Linked DNA regions of Homo sapiens: all the other regions are linked to region 1. Evidence: promoter capture Hi-C in 16 types of primary human blood cells and fetal thymus (Javierre and others, 2016). All regions are on one chromosome and are shown on one strand. Each heading gives the region's core, a stretch centred on a gene start or on the middle of the fragment in contact. The rest is flanking DNA. Distances are from core to core; before and after follow the strand shown.

Region 1 (4,883 bases), core at 1-2,500:
AGACGGACTCCTGATTCTCAGTGCCACCCCAAGCCTTCACCCTGGAGGCCAAGTCAGGCCAAGGTCCAAGGGGCTGGGTCCCGAGGAAGGGTGCTTACCCGGCTCCCCTTGCTCCCCCTTGAGGCCTGGCCGCCCCCGTCTGCCAGGTCTTCCTGCCTCCCCTTTCTTCCCGTCTGGTGCTCGGCACAAGTCCTCGGTCACCATAGAGGCCAGCGATATGGCCAGCACACAGAGCACCAGCCATCCCCGGGGACCCTCCATGATGCCTCTGTGGAGACACGGGAGGGCCTGGGCAGGTTGGACATCACACTCACACCCAGCTCCCACCCTTGAGTCCCATGCACACAATGATATATGCACAGTCCTCCCCAAGTGCACATGCACCCTCTGGGGCTCTCAATGTCCACTCTCAATCCAGCCCCAGGACCCCACGCATATACACAGAACCACAAACTCACACACATCCACACATGCAACAGAGCACACCCACATCTTCACACACTCACACAAACACAGCTCTCATCCACGCACCTACAAAACACAGTAGGCAAACTCAGAAATCCACTATACCCCCCTAGACACACAACTGATACCCAAATAGACCCTGTCCCTCACTTGCACGGACACACACATTCATACACTCCCACAGGTAATCGATTTCATTGAACAAATATGTATTGAGCGCCTGCTCCTTATTTAATTAACACTGGCTCACCCAGATGGTGGAGCTCTGCATACACACAGGAATTCACAAACGCCCAAAGCGACACCTGCTCACTCTTCTGCATGCTCAGCGCCTTTCAGCATCCACCTGAGCATGGGTGACTGGCTGCCCCTACAGTCCCCTCTGCTGGGTCCCACTGCCAGCTCTAGCACCCCAGGCTTTTCCTGGTTTCTTATGTGTTATGGGGCCAGGACCCAGGAACCCTGGTCTTACCCTTCAGTTGTTAGGTCTAACTCATCGCCTCTCACCCTCCCCCAAGCCCTGGCTCAAGGAGTTAAGGTCCCTCCACTCACCCATTCTGGGTCCTGGATCAGTGCTGCACCCCCATCCCTGTCCTAGAATCAGGCACAGTTATTTCCCTCCCTCCCTGCCTCAGCTGCCCAGCCTCCTGGGCCAGCTCCCCTGGGTCCCAGAACTCTGCAGCCCCCTCCCTCTGGGACTCTGGCCTCACCTGCCTCCTGTTGTCAACTCCAACTGGATGCTCCTGCCCTCCGCCCAGGGACCCTGTGGGCTGCCCAGCAGGAGTGGCTCCAGGCTGTGGCCAAGTTTCACATCCCTTCCTACTTCCCCTTCTTCAGACCTGCCCCCTGAACTTCCCCAGTGGCCAGAAGCTCACCAGGGACATTTCAAGCAGACTTCAGCAAGACTGGGACATTGGGCGTCCTGCCCCAGCAACAGCTGGTGTGGGAGTGGGGGCAGTGAGGCCAGTGCCTGTGAGGATGTGGGGTGGAGGCCGTGCAGGGTGAGGTTCTGAGAACCAGCGAAGCACAGAACACCAGAGCGGAAGGAATCTTTAAAAAAATCTGTCCCTTGTAGGACTTTTCATGATTATGAAAGTGACATGCAATTCATTGCCAAAAGCTTGGAAAATACAAAGAAGAAAGAACAGTGCATTGGTGAGAAGGAAGCACAGCAATCTGTTTCTAGACTTGCTGCTTCCTAGTTGCATGTCTTTGGGAAATTACTTGACCTCCTGAGCCCTCAGTTTTATCTGTACACTGGGAACGGGGTCCTATATCATCTGATTATTATAACATTTTAATGACTTGCACATACAAAACACTTGGCACATGGTGAACACTTAGTCACTAGCTTTTGCCAACATTTAAAAAAACAGCAAGTCTAGGTGCTTTGGCTCACGCCTGTAATCCCAGCATTTTGGGAGGTCAAGGCAGGCGGATCACTTGAGGTCAGGAGTTCGAGACCAGCCTGGCCAACATGGTGAAACTCCATCTCTACTAAAAATTTAAAAAATAGCCAGGTGTGGTAGCATGCACCTGTGTAGTCCCAGCTATTTGGGAGGCTGAGCTGGGAGGATTGCTAGAGCCCAGGAGGTTGAGGCTGCAGTGAGCTTTGATCTTACCACTGCACTCCTGCCTGGGAGACAGAACAAGACCCCATCTCAAAAAAAAAAAAAAAAAAAAGAGATGGCAATGGCGGGCCGTCTGGAATGGCTGCTGTCATCACACTGGCTGCAGCAGGGAGGCACGGCCAGGGCTGCATGCTCCATGTAGCCAGTGGGAGCTGGGGACAGTGGGAACCCCGCCCTCCTGGGAACCACTGCAGCTGCCAAACCACAGCTGATCCTGCTTCATGGAGCAGGTGGGGGCCCCCGCCATCCCCCATGCAGCTGCAGCTGCCTAAACTGCAGCTGTGGACCCAGGCATCCCTGCAATCTTGGGGGCCCGGGAAGGCCCCCCGCCCCACCCTTCAGGCTCAGAAGTGTCTGCTCCCACTGCCTGGCTTCTCCCTCCTCTTGGCGCCCACTCTGATCTTAGAGCAAAGTTGGTGCTGAGCCTGGGTGCTGTCGCAGCCTGGCTGGGTGTGGGCATGCTTGGGGCAGTGCTGACACACTAGACCCCTGCTGCCTTGGCCCCCTCTGGACTTTGGGCACTGACTAGCATGGAAGGAAAGCCAAGGGGAAACTGAGGGCAGCTCGGCACTGGCCTGCAGACGCTCCTTGGCATGAACAGCCTGGGCACCATGAACAGCAGCAGGAGACAGACAGGCTCCTGGGTGGAAGGGGATGGGTCCCTGGTGAGGCCCTACCTTCAAGCCAGGGAGGGCCTCAAGGCTGGGGGCCAGGCTGCCAGTCCCACACACCAGAGTGGGAACTTATGGTGTATTTTCTGGGCTTGCCTATAGCCACCCATGGACCAATCAGTATGCACTTCCTCCTCTCTGAGGCTCATGAAAGCTTCAGGCTCAGCCAGAGCTGGGCAGACATTGGATGACCAGCTGCCGAGAGGAGCTACCCGCTCCAGGGCCTCCTCTCTGCTGAGAGCTGCAGAGATGGCAGAACAACTTGCCTGCAGAAAGGAGCTTCCCATTCCAGGGTCTTCCCTCTTCTGAGAGCTGGAAAGTCGACAGGATGACCTGCCTGCAGAGAGGAGCTTCCCATTCCAGGGTCTCCTCTCTGCTAGCAGCTGAACACTCATCAGGACACCCTGGCTGTGGAAAGGAGCTGCCCCCTGAGGGAGGCTCTGCAGGAGGCTGAGCTGTTCTATCGCTCAGTAAAGCTCCTCTTCGTCTTGCTCACTCCCCACTTGTCTGCATACCTCATTCTTCCTGGTTGCAGGATAAGAACTTGGGACCCATCAAATGGTGGGGCTGAAAGAGCTGTAACACAAACAAGGCTGAAACATGCCCCTTGCTTGCCATGATGCAGGTGAAGGGAAGGAAAGAAGAGCTGCGGCCCTCTGGGGAACCCAGACCTGGGAGCTCCCCAAGCTGGAGCTGTGACTCCCTTTTCGGGGCCCTGTGGTTCCTGGCATCTCGAAGCTTCTGGGTGCCACCGTGTTCCCCGGTGCCAGCTGTGGAAGCTGCTTGTGGTGTACTTGGTCTAGCCACAACCTCTCAGAGAGCTGGCGCCCATGCTGGCACCTGGAGCTGCTCACCCCGCTGCAGCAGCCGGCATGTCTGACTGTGTGCAGTGGCCAGACCCCATGTTCACTCACACACCCTTCACTGTTCCATGCCTGACTTGCCCTGGGCAGATGTGGAACCCAGGCTGGTAATGTGAGCTGAGTGCTGCCTGCCAGGAGGAGTGAGTGAAACAAGCCCAGTGGGCCTGAGCAAAACTTGGGCAAAGGTGCCACCAGCCACAGAGGTTTCCGGCCAGAAAATGACACCCCAAAGATCCTGTAACACCATCTCAAAAAAAAACAAAAAACAAAACCCAGCAACAAAAGCCTGTGAATTCTACCATCTAGAGACAATTGCTGCTAGTGTTTGAACAGATCATCTAGCCTTACTCACCTTAACTGATGGGATGCTCATTACCTGTCAGCACGGCACACTGCATCATTGTCAGCTTGGACCCTGAGAATGCTTTTCTTTAGATAGAGAGGCTCTGTCTCTCCCAGACTGGAGACCAATGTGTTCAGGCCTGGGCTGACCACATCTGTCTGCTTCTTCTCATGAGCATGTTTTTGTTTGTTTGTTTGTTTTCTGAAAATTTTGCCAGAGGCAGGAGGAGGAAAAGAGGAGGAGGAGGGAGGAGATAAGGGAAGGCTGTTGAAGTGGGCAGATGAAGGATGGTCTAGAGCCAGGGTTTTTGAGCTTTGGGGACTTCTTTTTCATTTGCAATCTTGTGTGGCATCTGATGTATGTCAAACAGATAAAAATGGGGATACTGGCTTGAAGGGTGGGGGCCCAGAGCTCCCCCTGACAGCCCCTCCCATGCTCCCTGGATTCAGAAAGTTCGTGGAGCTGGAATCTCATCTGCTCAGCCCATACCTAACTCACAGTGTGACCCTGGGCAAGTTATCTCATCTTTCTGAACCCCACTTTCTCCATCTACCAAGATGAGGGAGTGGGTGGGAGGTGGGAAGGCTGCCCCAAATGGCCTCTAACATCCCTTCCAGTCTCCTCCTCCTCCTCCTCCTTCTTCTTCTTTTGAGACAGAGTCTCATTTTTTTGCCCAGGTGGGAGTGTAGTGGCTGGATCTCAGCTCACTGCAACCTCTGCCTCCTGGGTTCAAGAGATTCTCCTGCCTCAGCCTTCCAAGTAGCTGGGATTACAGGCACGCATGCACCACCATGCCCAGCTAATTTTTGTATTTTTAGTAGAGACGGGGTTTTGCCATGTTGCCCAGGCTGGTCTCAAACTCCTGACCTCAGGTGATCTGTCCATCTCGGCCTCCCAAAGTGCTGGGATT
Region 2 (4,544 bases), core at 1,193-3,692, 200 kb after region 1:
TACACTACTGATCAGCATTAACATTAAAATAGAGATCATAAGACTGACAAAACAGACTGTAGCAATAAGATACCAAATTCCAACCTGACATCACCTGACAGATAGCAGGCCCTGAAGGAAATCAAAGTATTTTACCCCAAAATATATTTCTTTGACATATTTTGAAATGGCCTTGCAAAGCCGTCTCTTGCGGGGGAAATTTGCATTCTATAGAGAATCTCCTTCCCTTTCTAGGTCTTTTCCGGATCCAGGAGAGATTTAAGTAAGAGTCTGACACCTTTTAAGATCCGAAAAGAGACATTTACCATCTATTCTCTCTGAAGCCTGCTACTTAGGGGGTTCATGTGCATAACAAGAACAACTACTCTTATCTTAACTCAAGCATTTCTTTCTGCTGACTTCAACTCTTTAGATAAAGCTTAACTCTTTCAACCAATTGCTAACCAGAAACTCTTTGAATCCACCTATCACCTGTAAGGCCCTTGCCCCTGCTTTGAGATGTTCTGCCTTTCTGGGCTGAAATAATGTATATCTTACATATATTGATTTATGTCTTTGCCTGTGGCTTCTGTCTCCCTAAAATGAATAAACCAAACTGTAATCTGATCACCTTGGGCACATGTTCTGAGGACCTTTTGAGACTACCCCGGGCCATGGTCACTCATATTTGGCTCAGAAAAACCTCTTTATATATTTTATAGTATTTGGCTTTTTTAATCAAAAAACCCCAGCAGGTTAGATTCTGTTTAAATAATTTTCGTTGAGACTTTGTTCGAGAGAGAACGTAACGTTCTGGAGTATTTTGAAATGATTATTTTTTCTTCTTCCCCTGTTGGAAGCATCAGGAGATTTTTCTCAGATATTCACTCTGAGAACCTGGCCAGAGCTCCAGGAGGTAAAACTCACAAAAGTGTGGGAGCCTTCAGATTAAATACAACTGGAAGATGTAGTAATTATAAATATTTATGCACCCACTTACACACCATCAAAATATGTAAAGCAAAAATGGACGGAATTGAAGGGAGAATGATATAGTTCTTCAATACAGTTGGAGACTTTGCTACCCCACTCTCAACAATGGATAGAACAACCATATAGGAGATAAGAACACAATAAACCAACTAGATCTTGTTAGGGACAAGCTGCCCCAGGACTCCCCACCTCCACCCAATGCAGCTGACCCTTACCCTGAATACTCTGCAGCTGCATTCCTGGACCTTTATCTAGGTGCTACAGCAAGGTCACCAGACTTGCTTACAGCCCTCCGGGTGGCATGGGGGAGGTCACAAGAAACATGGATAAACCTAAGTTACACCCTCTTATAAATTCCTATATTGTAAGCAGTTCTCAAGATGATATGTGGTAAAGTTAACCGACAAACAACCCCAGGGTCTCTCTCCCCCATATAAACCCATCATTTTGTAAGCTCAGGGCTGCCTCCTCTGACTGTGGCGACAAACAACCCCAGGGTCTCTCTCCCCCATATAAACCCATCATTTTGTAAGCTCAGGGCTGCCTCCTCTGACTGTGGCAGAGCAGCCCAGCAGGTTAATAAACTTTCTTGCCTGACCTTGGGTCTCTCTCTCTCTTGTCCTTTCTCTCGGCTAACCTTACAGATCTAACAGAAATATACAGAACAGTCTACACACCACTGCACACACATTCTTCTCATGTGCACATGAGACATTTTCCAGGATAGATTATATGTTAGGCCAAAAAGTAAGTCTCAATAGACTTAAAAAGATAAAGATCATATAAAGTATCTTCTCCTACCATAATGGAATGAAGTTAGAAGTCACTAATAGAAGTAAAAGTGGAAAATGCACAAATTTGTGGAGATTAAACAACGCATTCTTAAACAACCAATGAATCAAAGAAAACATTAGAAGAGAAATTAAAAAATACTTAGAGAAGAATGAAAATGAAAACACAATATACCCAAACTTGTGTAATGTAGAAAAAGCAGTTGTTAAGAGGTAAATTTATGTGTATAAATGCTTACATTAAAAAACAAGAAAGATCTAAAATCAACAACTTACCTTCACAACTTTAGGAACTAGAAAAAGAAGAACAAACTAAACTCAAAGCTAGCAAAGAAAGCAAATAATAATGGCCAGGCACAGTGGCTCATGTCTGTAATGCCAGCATTTTGGGAGGGTGAGGTGGGCAGATCATCTGAGGTCAGGAGTTTGAGACCAGCCTGGCCAACATGGTGAAACCCTGTCTCTACCAAAAATACAAAAATTAGCCGGGTGCAGTGGTTTAGGCCTGTAATCTCAGCTACTTGGGAGGCTGAGGTAGGAGAATCACTTGAACACAGGAGGTGGAGGTTGCAGTGAGCTGAGATCATGCCACTGCACTGCACTCCAACCTGGGTGACAGAATGAGACTCTGTCTCAAAAAAAAAAAAAAAAAAAAAAGAAAGCAAATAATAAAGACTGAAGCAGAGAGAAACAAGAGAGAACAGAAAAACAATAGGAAAAAATAAACTGAAACTTGGTTCTTTGAAAAGAACAAAATTGACAAATCTTTAGCTAGACAGACTAAGAATAAAAGAGGAGACTCAAGGACATTACTACTAATTCTAGAGAAATAAAATGGAGTATAAGAGAGTACTACAAACAATTGTATACCAACAAATTGGATAACCTAGATGAAATGTATAAATTCCCAGAAACACAAAACCTACCAAGATGAAATCACAAAGAAATAGAAAATCTGAACACACCTATAATCAGTAAGGCGATTGAATCAGTAATCAAAAATATCCTGACAAAGAAAAGCCCTGGACCAAATGGCTTTACAGGTGAATTTACCAAACATGAAAAGAACAACTAATACCAATTATTTTCAGAATTTTCCAAAAAATTGAGGAGGAGGAAACACTTCCCAACTCATTCTATGAAGCCAGCATTACCCTGATACCAAAGCCAGACAAGGGCACTACAAGAAAAAGAAAACTATAGACTAATATCCATTATGAACATTAATATAAAAATATTTCTCAAAATACTAGCAAACCAAATTCAGCAGCATAGTAAAAGGATTATACACAATGACCAAGTGAGATTTACTCCTGGAATGCAAGGATGGTTCAACATACAAAGCTCAATGTAATATACCACATTAACAGAATGAAGGAAAGAAAACCACATGATTATCTCAGTTGATCATCTAAAAAAGCATTTGACAAAACATAACACCCTTTCATGATTAAAAAAAAAACACTCAACAAGCTAGGAATGAAAGGAACTACCTCAACACAATAAAAGCCATATATAAAAAATGCACAGCAAACCTCATACTCAGTGGTGAAAGACTGAAAGCTCTTCCTTAGGATCAGGAACAAGACAAGGATCTCCACTTTTACCACTTTTGTTCAAAATAGTATTAGAAGTTTTACTTGTTTTGTTTGTGTTTTGGAGACCGGGCTCTTGCTATTTTTCCCAGGCTGGACTCAAACTTCTGGGCTCAAGCAATTCACTTGCCTCAGCCTCCCACATAGCTGGGACTACAGGCATGCCACCTCATCCAGCTTAGTATTAGAAGTTTTAGTCAGAGCAATTAGGCAAGAAGAAAAAAATAAAAGGCATTCAAATTGGAAAGGAAGAAGTAAAATTACCTCTATTTGCAGATGATATAATCTTACATATAGAAAACCGTAAAGATTCCACCAAAAAAACCTGTTAGAGCTAATAAATGAATTTAACAAAGTGGCAGGATACAAAGTCAACACACAAAAATCAGTTGTATTTCTATATATTAACAATGAACATCTGAAAAGGAAATTACAAAAACAGTTCCATTTACAATAGTGTCAAAGAGAATAAAATAATTTGGAATTAACCAAGGAGGTGAAAGACTTTACAATGGATACTATAAAACATTACTGAAAGAAATTAAAGAAGACATAAATAAATGGAAACACGTCCCATGTTAATGGATTGGAAGGCTTAGTATTGCTAAGATGTTAATATTACCAAAAGCTATCTATGGATTCAATACAAAACACCAATGACATTTTTTGCAAGAATAGAAAAAGAACACATTCTAACATTTATATGGAATATTAATGGTCTCCAAATAGCCAAAACAATCTTAAAAAAGAACAATGCTGGAGGACTCATGCTTCCTCATTTCAAAACTTACTACAGAGCTACAGTAATCAAAACAGTGTGGTACTGGCATAAAGAAAGACACAAACACTAATGGAGTAGAATAAAGAGCTTAGAAATAAATGTTCCCCATATATGGTCAAATAATTTTTGACAAAGACACCAAGGCCATTCAATGAGGAAAGAATAGTTTCTTTTCAGCAAATGGTGCTGGGAAAACTACATATGAAAGAATAAAGTTGGACCCTTATTTAACACCGTATACAAAAATTAATTCAAAATGAATTGAACACATAAATGTAAGACCTAAACTATAAAACTCTTAGAAGAAAACATGAAGCAAAAGCTTTGCAACATTGATTTGGTAATGGTTTCTTGAATATGATGGCAAAGGCACAGACAATAAAAGAAAAAATGGACAAATTGGAC
Region 3 (4,496 bases), core at 75-2,574, 250 kb after region 1:
GGACTCTGTGCCCAGCATTGGGTTAAGCATTTTAAATTATTAGCTCATTCATCTTTACAGCCACTCTTTGAAAGAGGAAGGCATGATTCTTACCCCATCTTACTGACCGAGGAAAGAGAGGCTTAGAGAGGTTAAGTAACTTGCCCCAGGTCACACAGCCAGGAAAGGATGGAGCCGACTCCAAGTCTAGCTCCTTTTTTTTTGCGACAGAGTCTCGCTCTATGGCCCAGGCGGAGTGCAGCGGCACGATCTCGGCTCACTGCAACCTGCGCCTCCCAGGTTCAAGTGATTCCCCTGCCTCAGCCTCCCGAGTAGCTGGGACTACAGGTGCCCGCCACCACGCCCGGCTAATTTTTTGTATTTTTAGTAGAGATGGGGTTTCACCGTGGTCTTGATCTCCTGACCTCGTGATCCGCCCGCCTCGGCCTCCCAAAGTGCTGGGTTACAAGCGTGAGCCACCGCGCCCGGCCCCAAGTCTAGCTCTTAACCAGTGTGTTATCCTGCTCCTCACTGGTGTAGAAGGCCACAGGTAATGACAATCCAGATTCTGGGGTCAATGTGGGTGTGAGGAGAGATGCAGAAGATGGAGATACCCGCAATGGATGATTCATCTCAACACAGGTGGTGGGGGAGCCCAGCTTTGCAATGCCCAGCTCATTAGGTGAGCGCCAGCCCTGGGATCTGGGCCACTAGGGCTGGAAGCAGCTCAGCCAGCAGCGCCAGGCTGCTAGAGAGGTTTTTCCCCCGACCGTGAGCTTATTATTACTCTTTATTTGGTGCTTTGGGACGGGCCTCCCATCCCAGCCTCGTGGAGAAGCTATGCCTTCCAGCCAGAGGACTGTCAGGACAAGGGCCTACTGGCCCTGGTCCAACCAGGGAAGGAGTTTGAGCTGCTTCTCTCCTGCGCTGTTGGCTGAGATGGAGACCAGCACTCCTGCCGAGAGCTAAGACACCTTGGTCCCTGGGCTCTCTGGAAAGCTGCTGCCCACCTGGCCTCCCATGTTCAGCTTGGCCTGGTCATGTTGGCTGAGCTGGCCTGCAAGATAGAGAATAAATTAACACTTCCATTGTGGGGGAATAAGCCTGCTTTTATTATTTGGTGATGAAATGAAGTATGGAGAAATGTTTAGTTTGGTTACAGGGCTGGCAAGAGAGTGGTGTGGGGGCAGCAGCCATGAACGTGAACAGCCACAGATAGGACAGGAAGAGCAGCATCTGGAGCTGTCCACTGGGCAGGGGGAGCAGTTCTGAGGAAGGGGGCTCTGTGCTGGAGGTCCCAAAGACTGTTTGCTGCTTCTGGAGTGCTGGACTGGGACTAGAGGGAGTGGGCTTCCAACCCTAGCTAGATGCCATCATATGACTTGGGGTAAATCCCTGACCATCACTGGACATTAGCCTCAACATCTGTTAATGAAGGCGTTGGCTGCAATGGCCTCTCAGGGCCTCCCTGGTCACCACTGTCTAGGGTTGGCTCGACTGTGGCCAAATAGAAGCTGTCCCTAATGTTTCTGACACCATCACCAGATGCACGGGGAAAAGCTACATGCTTGCTATTTCAAGAAAGGCGATGCTTAGCTTTAAATTCTATAACTGCTAAGGGGGATTTTCATGCCCAAGCACCACCTTTTCTACCTCGGAGAGGTTGGGGCTTATTTCACTGTGTCCCAACTGGATTGCTGGGAACTTCCGGAGAGCATGGATGGGGTTAGGGGAGGGAGGTGGAGGCTGGAGAGACCCCTAGGGAGGGCAGAGCCAACCCTGTGTGTATGCACGTGTGTGTGTGTTGGGGCAGGAAGGGGGATTAACTGACTTCTGTTAAGGGCTACACTTAAAGGCTCTGATCCAAGCAGGGCTGGTAGTAGGTTTTCAGTGTTGGATACAATGACAAGCCATGGGTCGGCGCCGATGGCCACCACCAATGCCAGGGTCCAGACCCAGGGCAAAGGATGGGTGGCCGGAAGGTGGAGGCAGGACTCCACCCCCTGCAGGTGGTAGCTGGGCACTGTGGTTCTGTGCTTAGGCTACAGATTCAGAAGAAGCAGTTTTGCAGCCTGGCCCCGGCTCCTGCTGACCTATCCTGGGCTGCTGACTTCACTTCTCTGGGCCTTGTTTCCTCATCAGAAAGAGGGGGAAAGTAACAGTTCCGCCTCACAGAGCAGGGGCTAGGATTATGTAAGAGGCTGGGCCATGTGTCTGGTGTACCTGGGCACAGGTGGATGGCTCGTTAGGACAGGAGGCCCATCCAGCAGAGGAGACCTGCAGCCTCTGCCCCACCTCTGGGCTGAGCCAAGTGAATGTGGGGAGGTCTCACCTCTGCCAGCTTCCACTGTGCCTGGGTCCTAGGGACAAAGATATGAAAGTGGACTTTGCGAGTGGCTTAGGCAGCACATAAGACTCTTCTGGGCCTGGCGCGGTGGCTCACGCCTGTAATCCCAGCACTTTGGGAGGCTGAGGTGGGTGGATCACGAGGTCAGGAAATTGAGACCATCCTGGCTGACATGGTGAAACCCCGTCTCTACTAAAAATAAAAAAAAAAAATTAGCTGGGTGTGGTGGCGGGTGCCTGTAGTCCCAGCTACTCGGGAGGCTGAGGCAGGAGAACGGCGTGAACCCGGGAGGCGGAGCTTGCAGTGAGCCAAGAACGCTCCACTGCACTCCAGCCTGGGTGACTGAGCAAGACTCCGTCTCAAAAAAAAAAAAAAAAGACTCTTCTGGAGAAGTTATTAGCAATGCAGATCCCAGCTCCAGTCTCCCCAGGGCTCCCTTTGGTTTGGGACAGACCCAGGAGTCTGCATTATTAACATATGTCCCTGAGGTTTCAGCTGTCTCCTGAGAAACTCTGTGCCAGGTGGTGTCTGTGCCAGCGTAGCTGCCTCTGCCCTTTTATGAGGTAGACCCTGGTGCCGATGCATCTCTGGCTATGAGAGGGGGCAACTGGTAAGCCTGGTGCACCCCAGGTCAATGGCAGGGAGCTGGATTCATTCAGAGCAGCCCAGTCTGGGGCCCTCAGGACTTCTCTGCCAGCTCCTTCTCAGGCTCCTGCCAGCCCAGAGAAGCGGCTCCAGCCCCAACCCAGGCACAAAAACGGGGCTGCTGACAGCCTCCTCCTTCCATGACACGGATGGCCAGGCCCTCCCTCTGCTCCCACAGACACTGCTTTGTCCCCAGGGACTTGTCTGCCTGCAGGGTGGACACACTTCTCCACCTCCCCGCCAGATCTCAATTGGACCAGCCAGTGACTCACAGCCCCACGCAGAACGCTTGGCACCTCCTAGGCGGACGATGCTTGTTGCATTCCCTGGCCCTTAGAGGAGGCAATCAATGACAGGGCGTGATTGGGGGCCACCCACCCACCAAATTATCTCCTTTGTGGATGCCTGAAATTCCACTATTAATACTTCATTCTTTTGGAGGATATTATGGCCTTATCTCAGTTCCACTCTTTAAATATAAGCCCCTTGGGATGTATAACATACCTGAGTATGGATGAGCACGTCAAAACACGTTCCTTTCCCGAAAGAGGGATCCAAGTTCTCAGGCTCCAAGCTCAGCACTCTTTCCAATGCCAGACACTTTCAGTCACTCAACAAACATGATCAGGCCCCAACTCTGTGTTGCAGCCCTATGTCTGGTGTTGAAATCTGCCAGACGTGGTTCTGCCCTCGAGGCGCATAGCAGAGCTTCCCCACATGTAATCGGAATGCGCTACTCTCTGCATACATAGCATCTTGCAGACGCCTAGCACACAGTGGGAGCTCACTAAATATTTGTTGAATGAATGAAGCTCTAGATCCACAAAAATAAGGCACTACAGTAGCGGGGATGTGAGCACAAACTCTGCAGCCGACTTCCTGGGTTTGGTTTCCGGCTTTGTCACTTACCAGCCAGGAGACCTTAGGCAAATTTCTGTACTTTTCTCTGCCTCAGTCTCCACGCTGGTAAAATGGGAATAATAATGGTTGTTATGAGGATTCTCTGCGTTTATCTTTGTAAAGTACTTAGAACATTTCCTGGCACACAGAAAGCACGACGTACGTGTTTGTTAAATAACCAAAACTCAACAGTCATGATTGAATACACATGGAAGGTATTCGGTAATGCTTGTTGGCTGGTCTAAGGGCTTACACATGGCAGGGATGGTGTTTTACTACTCTCCGTATCCTCAGAGGCTGGCACAGTGTAGACATCAGTAAATGTTGGTTTACTGGACTAACACTGCCCTCTGTGTGCCTCAGAGTGCTGGATGCCGCAGCAGGGCTGGTGCATTTGGGCTGGGTTCTAGGAGATGCAGTCATAAATCTAGTTGCTGTCAAGTTTCTGCAACAGGCTTTTTTTCTGGCTGTTTGGGTGTAGACAGAAACTGTCAATACAGAATCGATCTTTACGAGGCAGAGACTAATGCGCAGGGTGGTGAGACATGGGGAGGAGGGAACTGGGAACAGCTCATACTTCTTATAACTTCCCCCACGGTTCTGGGCATGTGATTAGCACTTGGTA

The links. Contacts are between HindIII fragments. The CHiCAGO score rates a contact against its expected background, and 5 or more counts as called.
Region 2: a fragment that was not itself captured here is called in contact with the fragment with the promoter of C1QA in region 1 in 1 of 17 cell types (endothelial precursors); the score reaches 5.2 in endothelial precursors.
Region 3: a fragment that was not itself captured here is called in contact with the fragment with the promoter of C1QA in region 1 in 2 of 17 cell types (monocytes and endothelial precursors); the score reaches 5.2 in monocytes.

Annotation. Positions count from the first base shown.
Region 1 is chr1:22,632,995-22,637,877 of GRCh38, reverse strand. It overlaps C1QA (complement C1q A chain), which reads right to left and starts at 1,250. Exons shown (of 3, transcript NM_015991.4): 1 at 1,176-1,250; 2 at 99-268. The coding sequence starts at 261. MIR6127 (microRNA 6127) reads left to right here and starts at 4,512; the gene lies at 4,512-4,620. The HindIII fragment of the contact is 10,061 bases long and covers 1-1,587 here.
Region 2 is chr1:22,439,350-22,443,893 of GRCh38, reverse strand. It overlaps a transcript of ZBTB40 not described here. Among named protein-coding and RNA genes, the nearest start is that of ZBTB40, 10 kb to the left of the region's middle. RefSeq lists enhancers at 1-392, 393-1,010. The HindIII fragment of the contact is 4,043 bases long and covers 421-4,463 here.
Region 3 is chr1:22,388,006-22,392,501 of GRCh38, reverse strand. No RefSeq gene overlaps it. Among named protein-coding and RNA genes, the nearest start is that of ZBTB40, 62 kb to the left of the region's middle. RefSeq lists enhancers at 1,460-1,960, 1,961-2,461. The HindIII fragment of the contact is 7,111 bases long and covers 1-4,496 here.